Regions from separate parts of the Homo sapiens genome. Here regions 1 and 2 are each linked to region 3. The links are contacts of gene promoters, found by promoter capture Hi-C in blood cells and fetal thymus (Javierre and others, 2016). All regions are on one chromosome and are shown on one strand. Each heading gives the region's core, a stretch centred on a gene start or on the middle of the fragment in contact. The rest is flanking DNA. Distances are from core to core; before and after follow the strand shown.

What was found. The method cuts DNA at HindIII sites, captures the fragments that hold promoters and counts their contacts. A CHiCAGO score of 5 or more calls a contact.
Region 1: a contact is called between a fragment that was not itself captured here and the fragment with the promoter of TSR2 in region 3, in 3 of 17 cell types (fetal thymus, M2 macrophages and M0 macrophages). The highest score is 6.6, in fetal thymus.
Region 2: a fragment that was not itself captured here is called in contact with the fragment with the promoter of TSR2 in region 3 in 1 of 17 cell types (fetal thymus); the score reaches 5.9 in fetal thymus.

Annotation. Positions count from the first base shown.
Region 1 is chrX:55,059,703-55,064,733 of GRCh38, forward strand. It overlaps a transcript of PAGE2B not described here. Among named protein-coding and RNA genes, the nearest start is that of PAGE2B, 13 kb to the right of the region's middle. The HindIII fragment of the contact is 1,880 bases long and covers 1,007-2,886 here.
Region 2 is chrX:54,983,818-54,988,427 of GRCh38, forward strand. The region is part of intron 1 of PFKFB1 (6-phosphofructo-2-kinase/fructose-2,6-biphosphatase 1); the gene reads right to left. Among named protein-coding and RNA genes, the nearest start is that of PFKFB1, 8.1 kb to the right of the region's middle. The HindIII fragment of the contact is 2,160 bases long and covers 815-2,974 here.
Region 3 is chrX:54,438,620-54,443,050 of GRCh38, forward strand. It overlaps TSR2 (TSR2 ribosome maturation factor), which reads left to right and starts at 1,785. Exons shown (of 5, transcript NM_058163.3): 1 at 1,785-1,883; 2 at 2,071-2,161. The coding sequence starts at 1,803. RefSeq lists an enhancer at 1,503-1,552. The HindIII fragment of the contact is 25,574 bases long and covers 1-3,273 here.

The sequences.
Region 1 (5,031 bases), core at 697-3,196, 620 kb after region 3:
TAGAGCTCTATAACTTATTTCTCCTTCCTAACTGAAACTTTGAACCCTTTGACCAACATTTCCCCATTTCCTACAACCTCCTGCCAACCCCTGGTAACCACCATTCTACTCTCAGTTTCTATCAATTAGATTTTTTTAGAGTCCACATATAAATGAGATCATGCAGCATTTGCCTTTCTGTGTCTGGTTTACTTCGCTTAGCATAATGTCCTCCAGGTTTATGTGGATTGTTGCAAATGAAAGGATTTTCTTCCTTCTTAAAGCTGAATAGTATTCCATTGTGTGTGCCCGTCTCTGTGTGTGTATACTCCACATTTTCCCTATCTATTGATTCATTGATGGACACTTAGGCTGATTCCATATCTTGGCTATTGTGAATAATACTGCAATGAACATGGAAGTGCAGGTATGTCTTTGACATAGTGACTTTACTTCCTTTGGGTATATAGCTAAAAGTGAAATGGCTGAATCATACAATAACTCTATTTTTAATTTTTTGAGGAATCTCCTTACCGTTTTTCATAATAGCTGAACTGGTTTACATTCCCACTAATAGTGCTCAATATCCCCCCAACACTTGTTATCTTTTGTTTTTTAATGATGGTAGATATTCTAATGGGTGTGAGGTGATATATCATTGTGGCTTTAATTTGTGTTTCTCTGATGATTAGTGATATTGAGCACATTTTTATGTAACTGTCAGCAATTTGGATGTCTCCTTTGGAAAAATATCTATTCAGGTCCTTTGCCCATTTTTAAATCAGGTTATTTATTTTCTTGCTATTGAGTTGTCTGATTTCCTTATATATTTTGGATATTAACCCGTTATCAGATATGTAGTTTGCAAATATTTTCTCTCATTGTGCAGGTTGCATCTTCACTCGATTGTTTCTTTTTCCATGCAAAAGCTTTTTACTTTGATGCAATCCATTTGTCTATTTTTGCTTTTGTTGCCTATGCTTTTGGGGTAATATCCCAAAAATCTTTGCCAGGACAGATGCTAATAAGCTTTCCTCTATGTTTTCTTTCAGTACTTTTACAGTTTTAGGTCTTATATTTAAGTCATTAATCCATTTTGAGTTGATCTCTGGTTTTTTTTGTGTGTATTTTTTTTGTTTTAGTAAATTATATTTTCAGTAAGTTTTCAATAACCAAATTGAAAAGTGTGTCTATTTATTCCTGACTAGGCTAAGACATGTAGAAATATATCACTACTGTTCAACTGTTGGGAGTAGGGAGGCAATGAACACAAGGAAACTCAGACAGAAAAAGAAATGTAAATTAACATCTCAAAATATTATATTATTACTTTAAAATTATTTAGTAAATCACATGGTCTTCTTATTTGAAAGAGAGGAACTGTGGGATGGTAAGGGTGTACAGAGGGTAGCTGCTAGTGAAAGTCCAGTGGGCTCCAAATATTCTATAAAATCACAATATAATGTATAAGAGAAAGAAGAATAAAGGAATGAGCTACTTTATTTTCATATGATTTCTTTTAAAATAGTGATTTGTAACACCTGTTTCTCTTTTCTTATTCTTTGCAACTTCTATTTCAGGTTCAAGGGGTACATTTGTAGGTTTGTTACATGGGTAAGTTATGCGTCGTAGGGGTTGGCGTACAGATAATTTTGTCACCCAGGTAATCAGCATAGTACCTGATAGGTAGTTTTTCAATCCTCACCCTCCTCCTGCTCTCTACTCTCAAACAGACCCTAGTGTCCATTGTTCTTTTTAAATATTTTTTATTTTTAATTTTGTGAGTATATAGTAGGTATATGTATTTGTGGGTTACATGAGATATTTCGTTACAGGCATGCAAAGTGTAATAATCACATCAGGGTAAATGGGGTATCCATCACTTCAAGCATTTATCCTTTGTGTTACAAACAATCTAATTATACTCTTTTAGTTATTTTAAAATGTATGATTAAATTATTATTGACTGTAGTCACCCTGTTGTGCTAGCAAATATTAGGTCTTATTCATTCTTTCTAACTATATTTTTGCGCCCATTAACCATCCCCAGTTCCCTGCCACTTCACCACTACACTTCTTAGCCTCTGGTTACCACCCTTCTACTCTATCTCCATGAGTTCAATTATTTTAATTTTTAGCTGTCACAAATAAGTGAGACCATGTGAAGTTTGTCTTTCTGTAACTGGCTTATTTCACTTAACATAATGACCTCCAGTTCCATCCATGTTGCTGCAAATGACTGGATCTCATTCGTTTTATGGCTGAATAGTACTCCATTGTGTATAAGTACCACGTTTTCCTTATCCATTCATATGTTGATGGACACTTAGGTTGCTTCCAAATCTTGGATATTGAGAATAGTGCTGCTGTAAACATGGGAATGCACATATCTCTTCGTTATCCTGATTTTCTTTCTTTTGGGTATATACCTGGGAATAGGATTGTTGGATCGTATGGTAGCTCTATTTTTAGTTTTCTTGAGGAACCTCCAAACTGTTCTCCATAATGGTTGTACTAATTTACATAGCCACCAACAGTGCAGGGGAGTTCCCTTTTCTCCACATCCTCACTAGCATTTATCATTGCCTGACTTTCAGGTAAAAGCCATTTTAACTGGGTTGAGAAGATATCTCATTGTAGCTTTAATATGCATTTCTCTGATGATCAATTATATTGAGCATCTTTTCATATACCTGTTTGCTATTTGTATGTCTTCTTTTGAGAAATGTCCATTCAGGTCTTTTGCCCATTTTTAAATGAGACGATTAGATTTATTTCCTATAGAGTTCTTTGAGCTCCTTATGTATTCTGATTATTAATTCCTTGTCAGATGGGTAAGTTGCAAATGTTTGTCCCATTATGTGGGTTGCCGCTTCACTTTGTTGATTGTTTCCTTTGCTGTGCAGAAGCTTTTAAACTTGATGTAATTCAATTTGTCCATTTTTGCTTTGGTTGCCTGTGCTTGTGGGATATTGCTCACGAAATCTTTGTGCAGTCCAGTGTCCTAGAGAGGTTCCCCAATGTTTTCCTTTGGTGGTTTCATAGTCTGAGGTCTTATAATTTAAGTCTTTAATACATTTTGATTTGATTTTTGTATATGGTGAGAGATAGGGGTGTAGTTTCATTCTTTTGCATGTGGATATCCAGTTTTCACAGCACTATGTATTAAAGAGACTGTCCTTTCACTAGTGTATGTTCTTGAGAACTTAGTCAAAAGTGAGTTTGCTGTAGATGTGTGAATTTATCTCTGGGTTTTCTATACTGTTCCATTGGTCTGTGTGTCTGTTTTTATGCCAGTACTGTGTTGTTTTGGTTACTATAGCTCTGTAGTGTAATTTAAAGTCAGGTAATATGATTCTTCCATGTTTGTTCTTTTTGCTCAGTATAGCTTTGGCTATTCTGTGTCTTTTGTGGTTCCATATAAATTTTAGAGTTTTTTTCTATTTATATGAAGAATATCATTGGTATTTTGATAGGGATTGCATCAAATCTGTAGATTGTTTTGGGTAGTATGGACATTTAAAAATATTGATTTTCCCAATCCATTAACATTTAATTTCTTGCATCAATGTTTTATAGTTTTTATTGTAGAGATCTTTTACTTCTTTGGTTAAGCAAATTCCTAGTATTGTATTTTGTGTATATTGTAAATGGGATTACTTTTTAAAATTTCTTTTTCTGATTGTTCGCTGTTAGCATATAGAAATGCTACTGATTTTTGTATGTTGATTTTGTATCCTGAAATTTTCCTGAATTTGTTTATCAGTTTATTAGTTTTCTCGTGGAGCCTTTAGGTTTTTCCAAACATAAAATCACATCTCTGCAAACAAGGATGATTCGACTCCTTCCTTCCCCTTTTAGAGGTCCTTTATTTCTCTCTTGTCTGATTGCTCTAGGTAGGACTTCCAGTACTATGTTGAATAACAGTGGTGAAAATGAGAATCCTTGTTCCAGTTCTTAGAGGAAAGGATTTCAGTTTTTCCCCATTCAATATGATACTAGCTATGGACCTGTTGTATATAGTTTTATTATCTTGTGATATGTTCCTTCTATATCCAGTTTTTTGAGGGTTTTTATCATGAAGGGATGTTGAATTTTACCAAATGCTTTTTCAGCATCAATTGAAATGATCATATGGTTTTCGGCCTTCATTCTGTTGATATGATTTATCACATTAATTGATTTGTATATGTTGAACCATCCTTGCATCCCTGGGTTAAATCCCACTTGGTCATGATGAATGACTTTTTTTTAATGTGTTGTTGAATTTGGTTTGCTAATATTTTGTTGAGGATTTTTATATCAATATTCATCAGTGATATTGGCCTATAGTTTCCTTTTTGTGATGTGTCTTTGTCTGGTTTTGGTATCAGGGTAATATTGTCCTTGTAGAATGAGTTTAGAAGTATTCTCTCCTCCTCTATTTTTTGGAATAGTTTGAGTAGGTTTAGTGTTAGTTCTTCTTTAACAGCTTGGTAGAATTCAGCAGTGTAGCCATTGGATCCTGAGTTTCCTTTGCTGGGAGACTTTTCATTATGGATCTCCTTCCTTGTTATTGGTTTGTTCAGGTTTTGGATTTCTTCATGGTTCAATCTTGGCAGAATGAATGTGTCTAGGAATTTTTCCATTTCTTCTAGATTTTCCAAAATATTGGCATATAGTTGCTCATAGTATTCACTAATGATCCATTGAATTTCTGTAGTATCAGTTGTAATGTCTCCCTTTTCGTCTCTGATTTTACTTATTTGGGTCTTGTCTCTTTTTTTGTTAGTCTGGCTAAAGGTTTGTCCATTTTGTTTATCTCTTCAAAAACCAACTTTCTGTTTCATTGATCTTTTGTATATTTTCTTCATTTTAAATTCATTTATTTCTACTCTGATCTTTATTATTTCTTTTCTTCTAATTTTTGGTTAGGTTTACTCTTGCTTTTCTAGTACTTTTGGATGCAATGTTGGTTTTTTTTTTATTCGATGTATTTGTTGTTTTTTGATATAGGCACTTACAGTTATAAACTTCCCTCTTGGTACTTCTTTTGCTGTATGCCATAGGTTT
Region 2 (4,610 bases), core at 645-3,144, 550 kb after region 3:
CACCAGTATCTGTTATTTTTTGACTTTTTTATGATAGCCATTCTGACTGGTGTGAGATGGTATCTCACTGTGGCTTTGATTTGCATTTCCCTAATGATCAGTGATGTTGAGCATTTTTTCATATGCTTGTTGGCTGTATGTGTGTCTTCTTTTGAAAAGTGTCTGTTCATGTCCTTTGCCCACTTTTTAATAGGGTTGTTTTTTTCTTGTAAATTTGTTTAAGTTCAACTTGATAAGAAACTTCTATAAAGCAAACAAAAACTATCACCAACATTATACTTAAAAGTGAAAGACTAAATGCTTTCCCCCTAACATCAGGACTAATGTAAGGATTTCCACCTTCTCCACTCTTTTGACATAGTACTAGAAGTTCTAACCACTGCAATAAGGCAATAAAAGGAAATAAAAGGCATACGGTTTGGAAAATAATTTTTAAAAAATCCCTATTTGCAAATGTCATGATTGTCTACATAGAAATATCCCCCTAAACTACAGAAATTCCTCGAACTAACAAGTGAGTTCATCAAGGCTGCAAGATACAAGATCAACACACAAAGACAATCTTGAGACTTTCATTTCTGGCATGACAGCATGAGGAGCTCTAAAGACCCATTCTCTAATAAAACAAGCTCAGCTGGCAAAATTACAACACAACAACCTTTTAAAATCTCTGGAAATTGTCTTAATGGAATACAGTACATGAAGATATTTTTATTCAAGAAAATCTACTGAAATGTGGTAAGAACACAGTCTTTGATACATGTGCCATGCTACTGTTCCCGACCTTACTACTGTCCCCTCACTACTGGCTCCAAGCTTAGCTTGATAGAAGCTCCACTTAAGGTGTGTATAGCCAAGATGAAGCTCCCTTTCGTCTTGGAGAGAATGTCCCATCAATACTTTGGCATCTTACTGGAAGGAGCAGAGAGCTAGCATTTAGCATTCCCTTCAGCTCAGAATTGCAGAGGCTAAATTCCTGGCAAGTGTGGTTAAGAGGTTGGAGGATCCCTTCCTCCTCCCAGTTTTTACTCATAGAATGGAGGCTATATACCAGGTGCAATAGGCTAAGAATACTGAGGTCCTGATTACCCTCATTCCATCTTGCTCACAGGGTAGGTTCCACACCAGGATAGGCAAACTAAGACCAGAAGCTGCTGTCTCGCCCAGCACCCAGAACAGTGCTCAGACAGTATACCCATGGAGAGAAGAAATTCATAAGATGAGAGAGCTCTGAAACTCTCCCCCCAAAACTAACTTTATTTTTAACATAGTACAAAGAAGCTCAAGCCCAAGGATGTTCTCAAAAACTACAAGTTCACTTAACTAACAGCAACATAGGCCAGCTTGTTCATCAGAGAGAACAAGAGAGAGAGGGACAGGTAAGAAGAGCCCTTCTGGGGTATGAAGAAACCTCCAAGACTTACTTCACAAACTACTCCTGCTAGAGTTTAATTAGATAAGGCTGCTGGGCAATGCATGCTTCAGGACACTGCCAAACAAACAAACAAACAAAAAACAAAAACAAAATACAGCATTCAGCTAGTAATTAGTGGAGCCTAGAGTGTAATACCCCCATGTGGGCTGACAGCTTAATAGAGAGACTGGGAAAAAGTCAAAGAAAGCCCAAATTACCTGCAAGCCAAAAACTATGCACTCCAAGAAGCAACACTGAAGGGTTCACACTGCAGGGAAACATACTTTAAAAATAGCCTAGCCAAGTCACAAAGCAAAGAGTTATATAGAAATAAGGAAATGATACCAGAAGGTAATTCAAACCCACAGGAACAAATGAAAATAATAGAAAATAATAAATACATACATGTTCTCCTTAATTTTCTCAGCTTCCTTAAAACATAAAATTATATAAAATAATACTTATAATGATGTATTATTTAGTTTTTAGCATATACAGATATAATATATATATTATAATAGCTCAAAAAGGAAGGTGAAAGAGAGCTATATATGAGTAAAATTTTTATATCTCATTGAAATTAAATTAGTACAAATCTGAAGCACACTGATGTATGATGTATGTGAAAAGCCCTAGAACAACCACGAAGAATATACCTAAAAAATATATAATAAAAAATGATCAAATGAATTAAAAAGTTAAACTAGAATAATTCATTTAATGCAAAAGAAAGCAGTAAAGGAAGAATAGAGAGAAAAAGACATGAGCTCTATGGAAAAATAAAACTGCATATTTAAACCAACTATATCAATAATGATTTTAAATCAGAACAGATTAATCAACCCAATCAAAAGGTAGAGAATATCTAACTGAATACAAACAAACAAGATCCAACTGCATGCTGCCTACAGAAGATAGGTTTTAGACTGAAAGATACAAGGCAGGCCTGGTGGCTCACGCCTATAATCCGAGCACTTTGGGAAACCAAGGTGGGAGGATCCCTTGAGTCCAGAAGTTTGAGACCAGCCTGGGCAACATAGTGAGACTCCATCTCTATTCTAAAAAAGAAAGAAGAAAAAAGAGAAAGAAGCAAATAGATTAAAAGTAAAATAACGTAAGTAATACATCATGCAAACAACAACCACAAGAAATTTGGAGTGACCATACTAATATGAGACAAAATGGATGTTCAAAAACATTACTAGAGATATATAGGGACATTCAATAATGACAAAAGGGTCAATCCATAATGAATATATCACAAGTATAAACGTATATGCCTAAACAACAGAGCTGCCAAATACATGAAGCAAAACTGGCAGAATTGAAGGGAGAAATAGACAATCCACTGACAATAGTTGGAAACTTCAAGACCACTCTTTCAATAATGGATAGAACAACTACATAGAAGATCAACAACAGGGAAATAGAGGACTTCAACACAAAGTAGTAATAACAAACATCTGTAAAACACTCCATCTCCAAACAGCAGACTATACATTTTTCCAAAGTGTACATCAAACATGCTCCAAGAGAGACAATATTCTAGGCCATAAAAGAAGCTTCAATAAATTTGGAAGAATGGAAATCATATAAAGTATGTTCTCCAATCATAATGGAGTAAAATAAAAAATTAATAACAGAGAGAACTTTGGGAAATTCACAAATATGGGAACCTAAAGGAAACAGAAGAAGGATATAATAAGGATTAGAGGTGAAAATAATAAAACAGAGACTAGGAAAACATTAGAAAAAAATCAACAAAATCAAAAGTTGGTTATTTGAAAAAATTAATAAACTTGACAAACCTTTAGTGAGACTGACCAAGAAAAAAAAGAGAAAACTCAAATTAATAAATTCAGGAAAAAAAGAGGAGACATTACTACTGACTTTATGAAAATAAAAAGAATTATAAGGGAATATTATGAACAATCATAAACTGTATGCCAACACAATAAATGCCTTAGGTGAAATAGATAAATTATTAGAATGATACAAACTCTCAAAACTGACTAAAAAAGAAATGAAATCTAAATAGATCTATAACAAGGGGTTGAATAAGTAATGAAAAACCTTGCCAGAAAGAAAAGTCCAGGATTAGATGGTTTCACTGGTGAATTCTACAAACATTTAAAGAATAATACGATTCTTCAAAAGCTCTTTCAAAAAGTAGAAGAGGAAGAAGCACTTCCCAACTCATTCTATGAGGCCAGTATTTCCGTGCTACCAAAGTTAGGCACATATATTAGAAGAAAAGAAAATTATAGACCAATAGCTGTTGTGAATATGGATGTAAAAATCCCCACAAAACACTAGCAAACTGAACCCAGGAATGTATAAAAGGATTTATATGTATACATTATATATATGTATATATTATACTTATACTTTTTACATCACAATCAAGTTAGATTTATTATAGGAATGCAAGCTTGATTTAACCTTTGAAAATCAATTAATGCAACAGATCACATCAATAGAATTAAGGACAAAAAAACCAAATGATCATCATAATAGGCACAGATAAAGCATTTGGGAAATTAAATACCCCTTCATGATAAAACCAACAACAAATTAAAACTAGAAGGAAAGGCCCTAAACCTAATAAAAGACACCAATGAAAAACCCACAGTGAATATCACACTTAATGGTGAAAGATTGAATAGTTTCTCCCATGCCGCCTGCCAAGATCAGTAACAACAGAAGGATGTCTGTTTTCATCTCATCTTTTCAACATTCTAGTAGAGGTTATAGCCAAGGTAATTAGGTAAGAAAAAGAAAATAAAAGGCATCTGGATTGGAAAGGAAGAGATGAAATTATTTCTATTTGCAGATAACATAATCTTGTATATAGAAAATCCCAAGGAATGCACTAAAAAACACCATTGGACCTAATAAATGAGTCCAGCAATGTTGCAGAATATAAGATCAATATATAAAAATCAATTACATTTCTATAAAGTAGCCATGAGCAAACAAAATGAAATTAAGTAAAACAATTTTATTTACAATAGCATCAAAACAATAAAATGCTTAAAAGAACACTTTAAAAAATGTAAAACACTCTGAAAACTGCAAAACATTGGTGAATATAATTAAAGACCTAAGTAAATGCAACAACATCTCATGTTCAGGGACCTAAAACTTATTATTGTTAAGATGGTAATATTCCCTAACTAATCTATAGATTAAATGC
Region 3 (4,431 bases), core at 535-3,034:
TTTATTTAGTTTGAGACAGAGTCTCACTCTGTTTCCCAGGCTGGAGTGCAATGGCACCATCTCGGCTCACTGTAACCTCCGCCTCCCGGGTTCAAGCCATTCTCCTGCCTCAGCCTCCCAAGTAGCTGGGATTACAGGTGCTTGCCACCAGACCTGGCTAATTTTTGTATTTTTAGTAGAGACGGGGTTTCACCATCTTGGCCAGGCTGGTCTCGAACTCCTGACCTCAAGTGATCTGCCTGCCTTGGCCTCCCAAAGTGCTGTGATTACAAGCGTGAGCCACCACACCTGGCCTAATTTTTAAAATTGTTTTTAGAGATGGGGTCTCACTATGTTGCCCAGGCTGGTCTTGAACTCCTGAGCTCAAGCCATCCTCCCGCATCAACCTCCCAAAGTGCTATGATTACAGGCATGAGCCACCATGTCCGGCTCTTCTTTTTAGATATGCATGTTTACAGCTAAAGATTTCCCTCTAAGTTTTGCTTTAGCTGCATCTCATGCATTTTTTTATGTTTTTGTTTTCATTCATTTAAAAGTGTTTTCTAATTTGCTTTGTGATTTTTTTCTTTGACCCATTTATTGCTTAGGAGTGTGTTAATTTCCATATATTTGTGAATTTTGTAAGTTTCTTTTTACTGATTTTTAACTTCTTTCCATTGTGGTCAGACAACATACTTTGTATGTTCAATCCTGTTAAATCTATGGAGGCCTACTGTATGGCCTAGTGTATGATCTGTTCTGGAGAATGTTCTTGTGTACTTCAGAAAAACATGTACAGTTATCCCTGGGTATCCGTGGGAGACTGGTTCCACGACCTCCGGAGGATACCAAAATTCATAGATGCTCAAGTCCCTGATATAAAATGGCATAGTATTTGCGTATAACCTATGAATATTCTACTGTATACTTTAAATCATTTCCAGATGTGACTCACGCCTATAATCCCAGCAATTTGGGAGGCTGAGGCAAGTGGATTAAACCCAGGAGTTCGAGACCAGCCTGGGCAACATGGCGAAACCCTGTCTCTACTAAAAACACAAAAATTAGCTGGGAGTGGTGGTGGGCACCTGTAATCTCAGGTACTCGGGAGGCTGAGGCACGAGAATTGCTTGAAACCAGGAGACGGAGGTTGCAGTCAGCCGAGATGGCGCCACTGCACTCCAGCCTGGGCCACAGAGTGACACTCGGTCTCAAAAAAATAGATAAATAAATAATTTCCAGGTTACTTATAATGCCTAATAAAGTGTAAATGCTATGTATATAGCTGTTATACTGTACTGTTTAGGAGAATAATGTCAAGAAAAAAAGTATACACATGTTCAATGCAGATGCAATTTTTTCCTGAATATTTTCCATCTGAGGTTAGTTGAATTCACGGACGTGGACTGCCCCCCATAGGGAGAGCTGATTGTATTTTACTGTTGTTGGTTGCAGTATTCTATACAGATGTTAGGATGCTTTTTTTAAATGCAGATTTTTAAGGCTATACTCACTGAGTCCTCTGCCCCAGGGCCTGGAATCTGTATCTGTAATAAGTTCCCCACATATTTCCTCCGCAGTACCCACGGATCCGGAAACCATGGCCCCACACGTCCTTCAGGTCTGGTGTCCTTTGATTTAAGTGAGTAACTCTGGTGGTGTCATCGATCGCTCTGACAGATTTTTCTTTTGCTCTAGTCTTGCTGCCAGGTCTGCGGAAAAGAGAATCCTGTGTTCTCAGGCTCGGCTTGCGTCTCGTTCTGCCTGGGCCGAGCTACAGAGGGATTGGGCCGCCGGGACGTCACGTGGACTGGGGCCGGATAATGGCGGGCGCTGCAGAAGATGCGCGAGCTCTTTTCCGGGCTGGGGTCTGCGCGGCCCTGGAGGCCTGGCCGGCCTTGCAGGTCAGTGGGGCCAGGGCCAGGGCAAGGTCAAGGTTAGGGCCCGGGGCAGAACAGGAGTTGGTTGGGCTAGGTGCCTGAGGCTTGGCTAGGCGGCATAAGAGGAGTTGGCTGGGCGGCGTAAGCGGCCTCCAGGCTACTCCAGGTCTGCTCCCAAGCTGACTTGGTGGGCTTGGACCTGTGTTTACAGATCGCTGTGGAGAATGGCTTCGGGGGTGTGCACAGCCAGGAGAAGGCCAAGTGGCTGGGGGGTGCAGTGGAGGATTACTTCATGCGCAATGGTGAGTGAATGTGAGGCGCCGCGACCCGCCTGTGTGGGGGTGTGGAGAGGAGGAGCCCCATCCCGCAGAGCCTGCATTTCCTCTCGAGCAGTTGTGGATTGGTACCTAAAGGTGAGGTGGAATGAATTCAGCTTTTAGAATCAGAATCCTGGATTCCAGTGCTTTACGGGCTGTACCACTGACTCGTGGGATTACTCTGGACAAGGCAGTTTACCTCCCTGAGACTCAGTTTCCTAGTTTCTAAAATGCGTATAAAAGTATCCACCAGAGCGCTGTACAGTAGAAATATTATGCTAGTCACATATAATTTAAAATTTTTTAGTAGCCACTTTAATAAAGCAAAAAGCAGATGAAATCAATGTTAGTAAACTCGGTGTGTATGAAATATTTCAACATGTAGTCAGTATAAAACATTGAGATATTTTACATTTTTTAGTATTAAGTTTTCAAAATCTGGTATTTTACAGTTTTAGCACATTTCGATTTGGCCTAGCCATATTTCAAGTGCTCAGTAACCACCTGTGGCTGTTTGGACAGCAAAGATCTACACTGTAGGCTCGTCTTGAGGGATATACAAGAACAAGAGGCCCAGTAGAGGGCCTGTTGCATAGTATGGTTTTTAAAAAAATCTTCATTCAATTTCTAGCTTTGGAGATGACATTAGGCAGAGTCATCTCTCTCAAGAAAGTATACTATCCATTGAGGATCCACACACGTAAATAGTTACAACATTGATAGATTTTCTGATAAAGAGGAGCTCAGGGTGCATGGGGTAACAGGATGGGGAGACAGCTTCTTAGTGGAGGTGGTGAATTGGGCTGGGTCTTAGTGAGAAGGAGTTAACTAGGTGGGGGAAGCAGAGAGAGCAACACTCAAGTTCTGTGGCATGAGGGTATAATGTGTTATATTTGGAAAGTAGCAGGGAGCTCAGTATTGGAGTATGGGCGTGTGTGCGTGGGGGGTGGAGGAGTGGTAGAGAATGAAGCTGGGGTGTGGGAAGCCCCCTTGAAAAGCATAAGACATGGAAGCCCTTATGTGCCTTTGATTTTATCATTTAGGCCAGTGTTTGCCAAAATTCATGCTAACTAGTTCTGTTAGATGTTCAGTGAAGAAGCTTCTCCAGTTACCTTATGTAAGAAAAACTCTTGTTCTGCTCCCACTGAAAAGTCTTAACACTCATGAACATATTAAAGGCTTGGGTAAGAATAAGAACCACTAAAAAACCTGTTTGCTTTTGTTTCTCATTAGCTTTCTATGGATAGTGTCCCTTAAGACCCAGCAGAACAGATATTTCTCAAAGGCAAACTGTGAAACACTGCAGTGGCTGGTAAAAATTCGTGGGCAGGTTCTAGGGTGAGAAATAGGATGGGATTTGCTGGCTAGAAAGTTCAGGAAATAATCAGTATGAAGCATAACCTGGAGAGGGAAAGACTGATGAGAACGCTGTTTTTGTCTAGAAACTGATGAGGCCTGAAGTAGGACAGTGGCAACAGGCATGGAAAAGAAGGGGTGGAATAGGGCCTTGGAGATTGGTTGGCTGTAGACAGGGAGGGAAAAAGAGGCAAGTTCCTGGTTTGAGTTGATGGGTGGATTAGGTGTCTTTTCTCGGAGTAGAGGAACCCTGGAGGATGCGAAGCAGGTTTAAAGAGTAAGGTGATGAGTCTGGCTTTAGATATGGAAGATCTGCGGCATCTGTGAAACGTCCAGGCACAGAGTAGTCTCAGTTGGAGATAAATTCGGGGGATATTAAGTTTGAGTGGTAGGGAAAGCCAAGAGTGTGGATGAGCTCTCCCAGAGAAAGCACATAGAGGGGAGAGGGCTAGGAGCTTTGTGGGAGACTTTCTTGAGTTACTGTCTAATTCAGAAAAAGTAGAGCATAGGCCCATAGGTAACTGAAGCCCAGAGAGGAAGGTGGCTCAGTCAGAGTCACACAGTAGGATGTCAGTGTCAAGGCTATGATGATTTCATCATTGGAATTACTATGTCCATTTCTTCTTAACTATCCCATTGGTCTGTGGCTTCTTTTATCAGTGGAACCACAGTTGTGAAGGTTCTCTTCACTTCAAAAACTTCAGCTTTTGCATGATAGAAATTAACATGGATCATGGATCTTCACTGTGCTAGGCATTGTGTTGGATGGTTCCTCATAACAGACCTTTGAGGAGGCCACCATTAGCCCCACTTTACAGATGAGAAAACTGAGGCTCAGAAAGAAGTAGCTTGCTCAAGGTCTCATAGAGGGGAGGCTAGTTAGAATAGTCCAGATGAAA